Linked DNA regions of Homo sapiens: regions 1, 3, 4 and 5 are each linked to region 2. The links are contacts of gene promoters, found by promoter capture Hi-C in human tissues and cell types (Jung and others, 2019). All regions are on one chromosome and are shown on one strand. The core of a region is centred on a gene start or on the middle of the fragment in contact, and the rest is flanking DNA. Distances in the headings are between cores, read along the strand shown. Region 1 overlaps COMT (catechol-O-methyltransferase). Region 2 holds the start of SLC25A1 (solute carrier family 25 member 1). Region 3 overlaps TXNRD2 (thioredoxin reductase 2). Region 4 holds the start of GNB1L (G protein subunit beta 1 like). Region 5 has its middle 14 kb from the start of SEPTIN5.

Evidence for each region. The method cuts DNA at HindIII sites, captures the fragments that hold promoters and counts their contacts. A contact is called where the count stands out against the background at its distance.
Region 1: a contact is called between a fragment that was not itself captured here and the fragment with the promoter of SLC25A1 in region 2, in 1 of the 25 tissues and cell types used here (dorsolateral prefrontal cortex).
Region 3: a contact is called between a fragment that was not itself captured here and the fragment with the promoter of SLC25A1 in region 2, in 1 of the 25 tissues and cell types used here (spleen).
Region 4: a contact is called between the fragment with the promoter of GNB1L here and the fragment with the promoter of SLC25A1 in region 2, in 2 of the 25 tissues and cell types used here (dorsolateral prefrontal cortex and lymphoblastoid cells).
Region 5: a contact is called between a fragment that was not itself captured here and the fragment with the promoter of SLC25A1 in region 2, in 2 of the 25 tissues and cell types used here (dorsolateral prefrontal cortex and stomach).

The regions. Positions count from the first base shown.
Region 1 is chr22:19,953,044-19,955,743 of GRCh38, forward strand. All of the region lies in intron 1 of COMT (catechol-O-methyltransferase), which reads left to right. Among named protein-coding and RNA genes, the nearest start is that of MIR4761, 9.4 kb to the right of the region's middle. RefSeq lists enhancers at 221-844, 845-1,466, 1,731-2,382 and a silencer at 2,685-2,700. The HindIII fragment of the contact is 3,711 bases long and covers 1-2,700 here.
Region 2 is chr22:19,177,322-19,180,021 of GRCh38, forward strand. SLC25A1 (solute carrier family 25 member 1) reads right to left here and starts at 1,415. Exons shown (of 9, transcript NM_005984.5): 1 at 1,259-1,415; 2 at 812-919; 3 at 621-720; 4 at 406-544. The coding sequence starts at 1,352. CLTCL1 (clathrin heavy chain like 1) reads right to left here. Exons shown (of 33, transcript NM_007098.4): 33 at 2,152-2,648. RefSeq lists silencers at 632-1,711, 1,912-2,011 and an enhancer at 713-1,460. The HindIII fragment of the contact is 9,906 bases long and covers 1-2,700 here.
Region 3 is chr22:19,936,148-19,938,847 of GRCh38, forward strand. The region is part of intron 1 of TXNRD2 (thioredoxin reductase 2); the gene reads right to left. It overlaps LOC124905081 (endogenous retrovirus group K member 24 Gag polyprotein-like), which reads left to right. Exons shown (of 2, transcript XM_047441689.1): 2 at 1-1,842. The coding sequence starts at 714. The coding sequence ends at 1,679. Among named protein-coding and RNA genes, the nearest start is that of COMT, 4.3 kb to the right of the region's middle. The HindIII fragment of the contact is 4,369 bases long and covers 1-2,700 here.
Region 4 is chr22:19,853,525-19,856,224 of GRCh38, forward strand. It overlaps GNB1L (G protein subunit beta 1 like), which reads right to left and starts at 1,350. Exons shown (of 8, transcript NM_053004.3): 1 at 1,296-1,350; 2 at 919-1,015. It overlaps RTL10 (retrotransposon Gag like 10), which reads right to left and starts at 1,350. Exons shown (of 3, transcript NM_024627.6): 1 at 1,136-1,350; 2 at 919-1,015. LOC124905080 (a long non-coding RNA gene) reads left to right here and starts at 1,448. Exons shown (of 2, transcript XR_007068005.1): 1 at 1,448-2,188. RefSeq lists enhancers at 1-458, 1,881-2,360. The HindIII fragment of the contact is 26,560 bases long and covers 1-2,700 here.
Region 5 is chr22:19,698,800-19,701,499 of GRCh38, forward strand. No RefSeq gene overlaps it. Among named protein-coding and RNA genes, the nearest start is that of SEPTIN5, 14 kb to the right of the region's middle. The HindIII fragment of the contact is 4,442 bases long and covers 1-2,700 here.

The DNA.
Region 1 (2,700 bases), core at 8-2,507, 780 kb after region 2:
GGCCTGATAGGCCAAGGTGAGGCTCAGCCGAGAAACGTGCTCAGAGGAGCCTGGCCGGAGTGTGATGGGGGAGTCTTTGTCCAGGCTGCTGCCACGGTGGGCCTCAGGACTCATGGCCTGGGCGCTGGGGGTGGGGCTGCCACTCAGCCTTGAGGAGAGCAATGAGGAGGTCAGATTCCACTCACATCCAGTGCGGTCTGGATGCAGGCCTGGCCCAGAGCCTGGTCCAGATGCTGGGGCTTTGTTTTTTTGTTGTTGTTTTTTTGAGACAGAGTCTCGCTCTGTTGCCCAGGCTGGAGTGCAGTGGCACTATCTCCACTCACTGCAACAACCTCCACCTCCACGGTTCAAGCGATTCTCCTGCCTCAGCCTCCCGAGTAGCTGGGACTACAGGCACCCGCCACCATGCCCGGCTCATTTTTTGCATTTTTAGTGGAAACAGAGTTTCACCATGTTGGCCAGGATGGTCTCCAACTCCAGACCTTGTGATCTGCCTGCCTCAGCCTCCCAAAGTGCTGGGATTACAGGCGTGAGCCACTGCACCCAGCCGGCTTTGTTTACAGTACTCAGCAGCTGCCAAAATAGTCCCCATTCCCAGGCAGGGCAGGCTCCCGGGCTCAGTCCAGCGGGGCAGATGGCCAGCCTGCACGTCACCCCACTAGGCATGTCCAGGCCCTTTCTGCCCCTCCCTAAAGGCACCCCTGTCCTTTCTGTCCCCTCCACACTGAGCCAAGCCAGCCTCCACTCTTGCCCCAGGCCTGCCCTCTGCTGGGAGCCGGGACACTGAGCTCCTGCCACATGAGCAGGTTGACCTGCAGGGGGCCTCCAAGCAGGTGCCAAGGCAGAATCGGATGTGACCAGGAGAACACCCTTGAAGGATAAAGCGAATGTGCGACCACCATGCAGGTCTGGCCCATGGAAGGGAGGGGAGGGGGCCCCGACGGGGCCACAGTAAAGGAGTGGAGGGGCCCCACAGGCAGGGATGGCCCAGCTGGCCCCCTGGGGCTGTGAATCTGCAGGTGCAGTGCAGCCTCTTGCCTCTCTCAGCCCAGCCCTTGCATCTGCCTCTTGGTGTGTCTGTGAAGACAAAGTCACCGTGGTCCCTGCAGCACCTGGCTTGAAGCAGGTGTGCAGTCCGTGTGAAAGCCTTCCCTTTAGCTATTAGGTATTGAGTCAAAAAAAAAAAAAGCCTTCCCCTGAGCCTGGGGGCCTGGCCCCACTGAGGATACCAGGCGGGGGAGGCTACAGGAGGCTGCCCTCTGCCTGGCCATCTGACCTTCCATTCTGACCCCTTCCCTTCCACACCAGCCCCTTTCCCTATGTAGGGTGCAGTCTTTGTTGCAACTGCTCACCTCTGCCATGGTCGGATGAGAGCAGCCACGGACAATGTCTGTGCAATTGTGCGTTTTTTGTTTTGTTTTGTTTTGAGATGGAGTCCCACTCTTGTTGCCCAGGCTGGAGTGTAATGGCACCATCTCGGCTCACTGCAACCTCCACCTCCCGAGTTCTAGCGATTCTCCTGCCTCAGCCTCCCAAGTAGCTGGGATTACAGGCATGCATCACCATGTCTGGCTAATTGTGTATTTTTAATAGAGACTGGGGTTTCACCATGTTGGTCAGGCTGTTCTTGAACTCCTGACCTCAGGTGATCCACCCGCCTCAGCCTCCCAAAATGCTGGGATTACAGACGTGAGCCACCGTGCCTGGTTGATTGTGCGTTCTGATAAAGCTTCATTTACAGAAATAGCAGGTAGGCCCCTCGCAGGGTGCCCAGAGCAGGTGCACTGTCTCACCTCTTCTCAGGTGTCACCGGGGTGAGAGGCTAGTCCTCTGCCTCCTCCTTCCTCTCTGCAGGTTGGAGAAATGACAGCTTCTTGTACTGGGGGTTATGAGACAGTGGCAGGAGGGGGACACTCCCAGAGTGCTGCCAGAAAGAGGCGAGGCCCCATCTGGATTTGATGGCATTTTTATTGTGGTGTTGTTTTAGAGACAGTGTCTGTCGCCCAGGATGGACGACATGGTGCAATCATGGCTCACTCCAGCCTCCAACTCCTGGGCCCAAGCAATCCTCCCACTTCAGCCTCCTGAGTAGCTGCAGCTATAGGCACACCACCATGCCTGGCTCAATGGGTATTTTGTGGCCATTAAACTTCTGGTCATTCCTTTAGATTCCCAGAGGCTGGATGGAGGTGAGTGGCCAGCCCCTGGGTCCAGAGATGAGCGCGGGGCCTGGCTGCAGCCTGTGGGGTCTCCCAGGCTGGCCTCCAGGTGTCCTCTCAGCCTGTCCACAGGCGCTGCCCAAGCGTGTGGCCTACCTGGTGCTGCCTGGCCTGTCTCTACGCACCTGTACTGGCTCTCCCTGGATTACTGGATCGCAGTCGAATCCCCTGCCAGAATCCTGGTCCCCCTTTATCACACCGGATCAGCCCCAAAGGGCAGGGCTTCTTGCAGCAGTTCCAGCCTTTGCTGGGGGTTTCCAGCCCTGTTGAGCAAGCCCCAGGTAGGGCCCTCTGCAGCCCCCGTGGGGGACCTGTGTGCCGAGCAGAGCTGCCCCGTGTGTAAACGCTTAGAACTGGCCTCCTTCCTGCCATCTGTGTCCTGTTTGTCATCACGCCTGTGGCTCTATGCTTGTCTCCCCGACTGGGCCACCAGCCCTGTGAGGGCAGGATGAGGCACGTCCAAGCCACAGTGGCTCTCAGT
Region 2 (2,700 bases), core at 165-2,664:
AGTGCAGCCAAGGCCGCCCTGGGCTGCCCACACGGACCATGCCCCGGGACACAGGGCAGCCCACACGGACCATGCTCTGGGACACAGGGCAGCCCTGTGAGCAGCCTCTCCCTTTATGTTTGCTGCTCTTTTCCAGTTTTGGCAGTGAAGGTGTCATTTTGTTTTCTGCTTTATAAAAGTATTTTTTAAAGACTTTAAGGCTGCCTTTAGCATAGACTCAGCCTCCACGGGTGGCCCTTCGTGGCAGGCGTCCTGCCCCAGGGCCCCGCGGTCACCCCGCCGGCCTTCCCTGGCGTCCAGGAGACCCTCCCCAGCTTGCCGGTTGCCCCGGGAGCACCGGGCCAGCGGGGCCGCCCGTCTCCGTACTCCCTGCGTGTCCGGGGTCCTCGCCAGGACCTTCCCCACCTTGATGGTCTCCATGGGGCACACGACCACCACGGCCTCGGCCACGCCAGCGCCCAGGCCGCACAGCAGCCCACGCGTGCTGTCCAGCCGTCCCTGGGCATCCCGCATGTGGTTGCTGAGGAACTCGAACATTCCAAACCTGGAGGCGGGAGGCGGGTGAGAGGGGCTGCCGCGGCCGAGCCCCCCTCCCGCAGCAGCCACCGGCCGGGCCTCACCTGACGGCCGCCTTGGGGATGGAACCGTAGAGCAGGGAGCTAAGGCCGCGGTACAGGCCCAGGACGCCATGGCTGCGAACCGTCTGCCGCACGCAGTCCCCTGGGGGAGGGGGCGGTCAGGACCCCACGGCCCTCGGTGCCGCCGCCCTGGGTACCCGCCCCCCGCGGCGCCGCGGCCTCCCCCTCCTCACCGATGCCCCGGTACCGCGGCGGGTGCGAGCGCTCGTCCAGCTGCAGCTGCGTCTTCACGTACTCGGTGGGGAAGGTGATGCAGATCTCGATGCCACCCGCCAGGCCGCCTGCAGGGACCGGGAACCCGCTCCTGAGACTCCCGCCCGGCCGCTGGCGCTCGGGCCCCTCCCCCGTCCCGGACTTCGGTCGGCGCGGCCGCCGCGCCAGTGCCGCGGGGAACATAGGCTGGGGCCCCACGCCCCCATGCCCTCACCCCGTTGTCCCGGCGAGGCGCAGGGGGTGACAGACGGGAGGCGGGCGAGTCCCAGCGCGCCGGGTGGGGACCAGGACCGCGCCTCCACGACTCCCCAGCCCACGGCCCAACCCGGAAGTGGGGCGGGGCCTCAGCGTCCCGGGCCCACCCAGAAGCGCGGCGGGAGAGGGGTCCGCGTCCCGGAGGGGCCCACCTGCCAGGATCGCCTTCCCCGGGTGCGTCAGCTTGGCCTTCCCGGACGCGGGCGCGGCGGCCGCCAGAGCGCGCGGGGCGCGGGGCGCGGGCATGGCGGGCGGGAGGCGGGGCGCCCTGTGGCGGCTTCGGGTCCGAGACTCCAGAACTCCGCGCTCGGTCCGCGGTGGCGGCGGCGGCCGGTTATGGTCCCAGGGGCGGGGCGGCCGCGTCAGCTCCAGGTCCCGCCCCGCGTGGTCCGAGCCAGGCCCCGCCCCCAGCCCGCCCCGTGCGGGCCGGGAAACTGAGGCCTGGGCGGGGCGCGCCGAGGCAGGCGTAGGGGCGGGGCCAAAGCGCAGCCAATGGCCGAGGCCGAGTCCCTGGGCGACCGCGAGCGGCGGGACGGGGGCGGGGCTGCGGGAGGCGGAGCCGTGGCCCAGCTCCGAGCAGTGGGTCAAGGTGCACTGTGTGCCGCGCCGCGGGATAGCGGGCCTCGGGTCTGCGCGACTGTCGAGAGCGGCGGGATCCCCAGGGATCCCGGAGGCCAGGGGCACACCCTCCCCGAAAACACGTGGGGCTAGCCCAGTCCCAGAGGAACTCTAACGTTTCAAACCTGGAGGCGGGAGGCGGGAGGCCGGTGAGAAGGGGCTACGCCGCCGGGCCCCCCTCCCGCAGCAGCCACGGGCCGGGCCTCACCTGCCGGTTCCCACCCACACCTTTCCCGGTTGTAGTTTCTGCGCTCAGCGAACAAGGTCAGGAAAGACCACAAATGCAAGCGGCTGTATTCTCCTAGGCAGCTTGTCTGGGCAACGGAGGTCCCACACCCCAAAGAGGACCCAGCAAATCTTTAATGGACTGCGGGGCCTAGGAAACTGGCCCGTCCCTCCTACCCATACCAGCACCAAGCAGAGCACCTTTGCCTGGATAAACCGACTTTAATATTTATGATTGCCAAGAGGCTGAGAGTCCTTTTATGAGGTCCGGTACCTCCAAACAAGACGTGTTCATGTAGTCTTCAAACTGGCCTGGAGGGGGCAGCTCCAGCCAGTCGGAGGCGCCCAGGAGGAAGGCCTGGCTCCAGCAGGAGGGCCCACAGTCCAGTCTCTGTTGTCGGCTAAAGCTGGTCTTGCGCCGTCAGCCTCTACCCTGGCCTCCCCAGGCTCTGGGATGGCTCAGAGGTTGCCGTCATTGGGTTTCAGCAAAAATAAATATTGTCCAGGTGTCCCTGCCTCCCATTGCGTCCCCTGTGCTGCTGGAGTGACATGCTCCTTGGAGAAGTTAGTAACTCTGCAGGTAGGGTGGGTGGTGACAACGCCCACTACACGCGGAAGTTGTACATTGGAGGCTGGCGAAGTTGGGAGCAGAGGCATATCCATAGGGGAAGCTGGCAGGGGCTGGGCCCACGGCAGGGCCTGCAGAGGGGGAAGCCCACAATGAGCAGAGCTCTTCCTGCCCATGGGGGTC
Region 3 (2,700 bases), core at 161-2,660, 760 kb after region 2:
CCTGTCACTGTTTGGGGTGATTGGGCCTTGGTACGTGCCATCCTAATGACATACCAATCCCGTGACACCCTGCAGTTACCACAGTTTTCTGAATCTGGCCACCCTCTACCTCTTCCTCAGCTTTCCTCTCCCACTCGGCCTTCATTATCTGCTCAGCCCCTCCCTTTGCCTACTCCTCCCCCACCTGACGATACTGAGGATTCAATATCTAACTCCAGTGACTTTGGCTTAACATCACCCCCTGATGATCTTATTTCTTTTCACGAAGAGCCGACACTTGTAGCTCCTGCGGCCCCAACTCAGACAGCCCAGGACCATATCTATGCTAACTCTTCCCTCTCCAAACCTTTACAGTCTTTGCCTCCGGAGCCATCCAAACTACAATTTACCTGTAATTCTGCAGGCCCTCCCCCATCCACCACAGCCCCTCACCCTCCTATCATTTTGGTCCCTCAACCGGTCACTTTGCCATCCACTCAACCTGCTTCTCTGTACCCTTCTTCATGCAGGGACACCCCTGCCACTCTGGTTGTGCAGGACTGGGCCAGTAATCACCAGTATGCTTCTGCCTCTTCTGCTCCCCCAATGCCCCTTTCTCACACTCTTATACCAGTCCGACCCCGTCAATCTCAGTTTCTCTTATCTATACATACTTTTCCTGTCACTTCTATGCCGACTCTATCTCATGTGCCTGCTCTTGAAACTTTCATGCAATGCTTATTACGCCAAAACAAACAAGTAGATTAGAGGCGTGGGCTTATTCGGTCATGCTGGAACCTCCTAATGCTCAAGGGGTACAAGTGTGTCGATATACGCCGCTCAATCTTACCTTTTTAAAAGAATTCAAGGATGCTTGTACTCAGTATGTTCCTACTTCTCCATATGTTAAAACGGTATTACAGACTCTTTGTACCGAGGTCATTTTGCTTCCTATAGACTGCGACCTTTTGGCAAAAGCTGTTCTAACTCCATCTCAGCATTTACAATTCCATACCTGGTGGTCAGAGGAGGCCCGCCTGCAGGCTCAGCTAAATCGGGCTGATGGCATTCCAATTACTCAGGCTCAGCTCACAGGCTCCGATAATTACTCTGATACTACTGCTCATTTAGGCTTTGATGCTCTCACCACGGAACAAGTAACAAAGGTGTGTATGAGAGCTTGGGATAAATTACGCACCCCAGGCCAAGCTTCTGTTTCTTTTACTATTGTTAAACAGGGTCACAATGAATTATATCTTGATTTTTTAGCTAAATTACAAGATGCTGTTGAAAAATCTGTCTCTGATGAGCACACTCAAGGTATTCTTCTTCATATGTTAGCTTTTCAAAATGCGAACCATGAGTGTAAAATGGCCGTGCATTCCATCCTACGTCAAAATTTACCTGATCATGAGGTGTTGCCTGCATATATTAAAGCTTGTGAAGGCGTTGGATCGGAGACCCACAGAGCTATTCTGTGGGCACCGGCCATGAAGCACGGCAACCAAACTGGCTCGACTGATTCTTTTCTTGGAGCCTGCTATAATTGTGGCCAACTTGGTCATACCCAAAAAAACTACACTGTTAAAAACTTAAAAGCGGCCAAGCCGGCTCAACAAACACGGCCAAATGCTCCTGCTACTGTTTGCCTGCGTTGTCGTAAGGGTAAACATTGGGCAAGTACTTGCCACTCAGTCTGATATAGATGAAAATCCCTTGCCACAGAACCAGGGAAACAGGAAGCAAGGCCAGTCCCAGGCCCCAATATCAAATGGGACACCTCGGACTCAGACCAATGTTGTGTTTTTGCGTCAAGCAGTCCCAACGCAGCCCCCAGCACAAACAAATTTACCTACAGCCAATCCAGATGGGTCCCAGCCTCTTCTTCTGTCTCAGTACAATGCTTGTCTACCTCCACAGTAGGCAGCAGGGCGGTCGATCTCTGTAGTACCATTCCTCTAAATTTACTACCTAATTCTTTGCCTTTAATTGTCCCCATGGGGGTCACTGGCCCTTTACCTCAAGGTTCGGTGGGCCTGGTGTTAGGCAGGGCATCCACCTCATGATACTAAAGGTATCATAGTTCATACTAGTCTCATTAATTCTGATTCCTCTGATGAGATTAAACTTATGTAAACTTATGGTGTCTGCCAAAGTTCCTGTTTCCATTCCGGCCAGTGAGTCAATTGCTCAATTACTTTTACTACCTAACATTGTTTTAAACAAAGGAGATAAGACATGGGGCCCTGGGATGGGCTCCAGCGGTGAAAAAGCCGCTTATTGGATTAATGTAATTTCTAAACAATGGCCTACCTGCACCATACACATTCAAGGAAAAAAGGTTGAGGGCCTAGTTGATACTGGGGCTGATGTTTCTATTATTTCCTCTAATTTATGGCCTTCCTCCTGGCTTAAACATCCCACTAACATGAAACTAGAAGGTGTTAGAAAAGCTGAAGAAGTTCACCAGAGCACATTTATCTTGGCTTGCACTGGCCCTGATGGTCAAAAGGGAACAATTCAGCCTTATATCATGCCCATCCCCATTAATCTTCGGGGCAGAGATTTGCTGGCACAAATTGGGGCTGAAATTAATATTCCACATAACTTTTACAGTGCTCCCAGTCAACATATAATGGAAAACATGGGGTTTGTTTCCAGACTCGGTCTCGGTCCAAAACGTGAAAAAATTACTAAACCTCTTCAAGTTACTGTAAAAGA
Region 4 (2,700 bases), core at 100-2,599, 680 kb after region 2:
GCCACCGGCTCACTGGGAGCACAAGGCCTGCACACACCTTCATCCCACATCTCCTATCTGCTGGCCATCCCCCCTCAGGGTGAGTTCCTCCAGGTACCTCCCAGGGTGGCCTGCAGCACTAGAACCTGCCAGGGCCACTGGCCCTACCTCCACCACCCAAACACTCTGGAATCCCTCAGGTCTGACCCCCCTCTGGGGGGGGGGTCTTCACCTGAAAGCCCAGCCCATGACCCTGGCTTCCCACCTTACTGCAGGATTATACTAAGGCCTGGACGTGAGTCGAGTCCAGTCCAGTCCCTCACTGAGCTCTAAAAAAGCAGTGACCCCGATCCAGGGCCCAGCTCCCACCACCAGCCAAGGTTAGGTATCCAGGTTGCCCACAATGACCACACCCCATGCCCGGGAGCCACAGTGTGCTACCCAGATCTCTGCCTTCCCTTCTTCCCAGTCCCCTACCCTGCCCACTCACCTGCGCACCTGTGTCCCCTGCAGTCTGGGAGAAGGCTTCCCTGCACCAGCCAGCCAGGCCTGCTTTGGGCCTGAGCCTTCCTAACCCTGGGCCGCACTCTCACCATTTTGAGAACCTTAGCCCTCCCACGCCTATCAGTCTGTTGGTCCCCCTACTTTTCTCCCCACACTGCCTGGCATAGAAGACTTTCGGCCCTTCTAGACTGGACAGCACTATCCTAAAGGGGCAGGTACCACGGCGCATGTGTGTTTGCCCCCACAAGGCCAAAGGCAGCACCTGGAACGCTGGAGCCGTTCTCTGCTCTGGGGAGACCCAGGAGCCCCAAGAACAAAACCTGCCCAAAGCCTTAAAGCAAGCTGAGTGCAGACGACTGCACCGCCCGCCCCCCAGCAACCGCCATGCAGGAAATACGAGCTCACAAGGCCCACGGCAACAAGAAGCCCACCCACCTGAGGCTACGCGAATCGCCCGCGAAGAGGGTCCTGGGATCCGTAGCCACAGACCGTGGGACGGGCCTCCCTCTGAGGGCGAGAGTCCAGGCGCCACCTAGAAAGTGGAGAACGAGATCGGCCGCCGTGAGGCCAGGCAAGGAGCGGGCGCGGCTTCCCGAGACTGCGAGAACGGCCCAAATGTCTCCAGGTGCCCCCACAAACCCCCGGCGCGGACCGAGAAACTGAGGCCCGCAGACCGAAGGCACTGCGACCCAGGCTGGGGCTCCGAGTGCCCCTCTGCGGATCAGAAGTCGGGAAAAGACGCAGGGGCGCAGCTCCAGGCCCGCGTGCACGGAGTTCAAGCCGGCCGCCCGGGCTCCCGCCTCCACACTGACCCTCTTGCCGGAGTCGGGAACGCCTGCTCCTAGGAGCGCCGCGCAGCGTCCAGAGACCGATTACATCGCGCAGCCACGCCCCCAGCGTGCGCGCGGCCGCCGTGTACGACCCGGCGCATGCTCCCGGCACGCTCCACGCGCTCCTCCCATCCAGGCCGCGCCTGCGCTGTATGCCGTGTGGCCGCTACCTCGCAGGCTCTCCCGGTCCCTGCTGGCGCGGCAGTGCCGCGCGGTGGGTGATGGGAGAGCGCGCCCATTCCCACGCCGCGCCAAGTGCCACGGGATCAGGTGGGGCCGCGTGTACAGGCGCGAGACGGTCGGGCCAAAGCTGCCCCTCATGATCCCCAGCGGACGGTGCCCGGCGGTCCCTCAGATCCGGGAAATCTGCACCCGGCTGTGGCGTAGACCGAGGGGCCGATGCTGCTTCAGCCCGCCGTTACTGCCCTGGCGTCAGCCAGACACTGGGGTGCTGCTGGGCGTCGAGAGGGCTGCTGCGGGGCCGGGCTAAGCCTGGGGGGCTGCAGGTGTCGGGGTGGATGTGGGCATAGCGGGGCTGCTGGGCCTCGTGAGCGCCCTGGAACGGCGTGCCCGCGGAGTGCCTCTCATCACTCATTGCCAGTGCGGGGAACCTTGTTAGGGCCCGGTTCGACGTAGCTGCAGGCTGGGCGCCAGAGGCAGGGGGCAGGCAGTCCGAGAGGACCCTCTACCTGCATACCTGGGGGCTGCAGGCAGGGCCTCTGGGCCTCCTTGTTGTGGATATAATTGTGTGCTTCCCGACTCAGGCCGAGGCTGGACCCGGAGACGACAGCGAGGGCAGGCTACCAAGCCCTCCCCACAGGGCCGTGCCCAGCCCAAGCCTGCCGAGTCAGCACCCAGATCCTGGGACAAGATAGGTGAGGATGAAGTGGTGGTGCTCTTCTCACTTGCACAAGCCGTCCCACGCCACCTCTCCTCGGCTTCACGGTGCCTAGAGAAGAGGTGGGAGAGGGTGCAGGCGCCCCAGCTCAGGATCTGATGCCTGTGGGCCAAGGACCTGGATGCAAGCCAGGAGTCCTTGGGGCCACGGGCAGGCAGCCGGATTCACCGGAAAGTGACGCTTCTCAAGGGGAACACACACGTAACACACCAGCTCCCTTTCTGCCCTGGTCCAGTGACTCCTTTCATGAAAGCTCTCTGAAATGTTATCTGCATTTACACCCAAACTCACTCACTTTGATCCCTGAAACGCGAATCAAAGGTCACATTGTACCTTCCCTGGGTCTGTGGGGCTTTCAGCAGCCTGGGCCAAAAATAATAAAAGTGGCACCGAGCCAGGAAACGCCTCCTTGAAGTGGGAATGAAATTTGGATTTTTTTCGGTTGTATCTTTCCTAATTGACCTGATAATTTAAACTTCCTCCCTCAAG
Region 5 (2,700 bases), core at 6-2,505, 520 kb after region 2:
AAACCTGGCTTATATTTTTATATTTTGATGTATAGGAATGTATTTGGGCATAACTGACATCTTTACAATACTGAGTCTTCTAATCCATGAATATGGTGTATCTCTTTCTTTATTTAGATATTCTTTGGTTTATTTCATCCACATTTTGTTGCTTTCAGCATAAAAATCCTACCCATGTTTTGTTAGATTTAACACCTGAGCACTTTACTTTTTGAGAGATTATAAATGATACTGCTTTTTTCTTTTTTTCTTTTTTTCTTTTTTTTTGAGATGGAGTCTCTATCTGTCACCCAGGCTGGAGTGCAGTGGTGTGATGTCGGCTCACTGCAAGCTCCATCTCCTGGGTTCATACCATTCTCCTGCCTCAGCCTCCCAAGTATCTGGGACTACAGGTGCCCACCACCATGCCTGGCTAATTTTTTAAATATTTTTAGTAGAGACGGTGTTTCACCATGTTAGCCAGGATGGTCTTGATCTCCTGACCTCGTGATCCGCCCACCTTGGCCTCCCAAAGTGCTGGGATTACAGGCATGAGCCACTGCACCCAGCCCAATGATACTACATTTTTAAAGAAATACAATTGATTTTTAAAATTTTTTTATTTTTATTTTTTGTAGAGAAAAGATCTCGTTATGTTGACCAAGCTGGTCTCAATGTCCCGGCCTCAAATGACCCTCCTGCCTGAGCCTCCCAAAGGTCTGGGATTACAGGCATGAGGCATCGAGCCACAGTTGGTTTTTGTATGTCAATCTTATATTCTTCAACTTGCTCAAGTGAGAAGAAACAATCTGCCTGATCTCAAGGCCTATTCCATAATTATGGTATTTAAAACTATATGGGATTAGCAGAAGGGTGGACACATAGATCAGTGAAACAGTAGAGAACTCAGAAATAGATCCATATAAACATGCCCTAGTGATGTTTTAAAAATAAATTTTATTGTGTATATTTGAGGTTTACAACATGATAGGTTTTTTTGGTTTGGGGTTTTTGGGGTTTTTTTTTGAAACAGGGTCTCACTCTGTTGTCCAGGCTGGAGTGCAGTGGTGCAATCACAGCTCACTGTAGCCTCGACCTTCCAGGCTCAAGTGATCCTCTCCCTCAGCCTCCCAGACAGTTGGGGCTACAGGTGTGCACCACCACGCCCAGCTAATTTTTCATATATATATATATATATATATATATTTTTTTTTTTTTTTTTTTTTTTTGTAGAGATGGGATTTCACCATGTCACCCAGGCTGGTCTTGAACTTCTGGGCTCAAGCAATTCTCCCACCTCAGCCTCCTAAAGTGCTGGGAGAACGGGCGTGTCCCTAGTGATTTTTGACAGAAGTTCAAAAGCAACTCAATGAAGAAAGGATACAACAAATGGTGCTGAAGCAACCGGACATATATAGATGTGTTAGGCCATTCTTGTATTGCTATAAAGGAATATCTGAGACTGGGCAATATATAAAGGAATGAGGTTTAATTGGCTCACAGTTCTGCAGGCTTCACAGAAAGCATGGTGGTGGCATCTGTTCAGCTTCTTGGGAGGCCTCAGGAAGCTTTCAACCATGGCTGACGGTGAAGGGGGTCAGGCATTTCACGTGGCAGAGCAGGAGCAAGAGCTAGGGGAGGTGCCAACACTTCTAAATGAGTAGATCTCATGGGAACTCACTCGCAATCACAAGAACACCACCAAGGGGATGGTGGTAAACCAATCATGAGAAATCCACCCCCATGATCCAACCATCACCTCAAACACTGGGGATTACATTTCAACATGAGATTTTGTGGGGACACAGAGCCAAACCATATCAATAGGCAAACAAAAACAAAACCAGAAACCTCAATCTCACATCTTATTTAAAAATCGACTCAAAATAGAATGACAGGCCGGGCACAGTGGCTCATGCCTGTAATCCCAGCACTTTGGAAGGCCGAGGTGGGCCAATCACCTGAGGTCAGGAGTTCGAGACCAGCCTGGGCAACATGGCGAAACCCCGTCTCTACTAAAAATACAAAAAGTAGCTGAGAGTGGTGGTGGGTGCCTGGCTGAGGCAGGAGAATCTCTGGAACCCAGGAGGCAGAAGTTGCAGTGAGCCGAGGTCGTGCCACCGCACTCCAGGCTGGGTGACAGAGCAAGACTCAAGAAAGAAAGAAAGAAAGAGAGAGAGAGAGGAAGGAAGGAAGGAAGGAAAGAAGGAAGGAAGGAAGGAAAAAGAAGGAAAGAAGGAAGGAAGGAGAAAAGAAAAGAAAAGAAAAGAGATGCCATCTCAAAAAAAAAAAAGGAATAATAAACTGAAGTTTAGAATGTAAAACTATAAAACTTTCAGGGAAAAAAATACAGGAGAATAATCTCTAGGATCTAGAGCTAGGGAATGAGTTATTAGACTTGACTCGAAAAGCAGGAGCCATAAAAAGAAAAATTGATAAACTGGACTCCATTAAAATTAAAACTTTTGCTCTGTGAAAATTTCTCTGTTAAAAGTGGTTCTGTTACAAGAATGAAAAATCAAGCTACAGACTAGGAGAAAACAGTTGCAAAAGATATATCCAAGAAAGGGCTAGTACTAGAATATATAAAGAACTCAGGCTGGGCGCAGTGGCGCATGCCTGTAATCCCACCAATTTGGGAGGCCAAGGCAGGCAGATTACTTGAGGCCAGGAGTTCGAGACCAGCATGGCCAACATGGCAAAACCCATCCCTACTAAAAA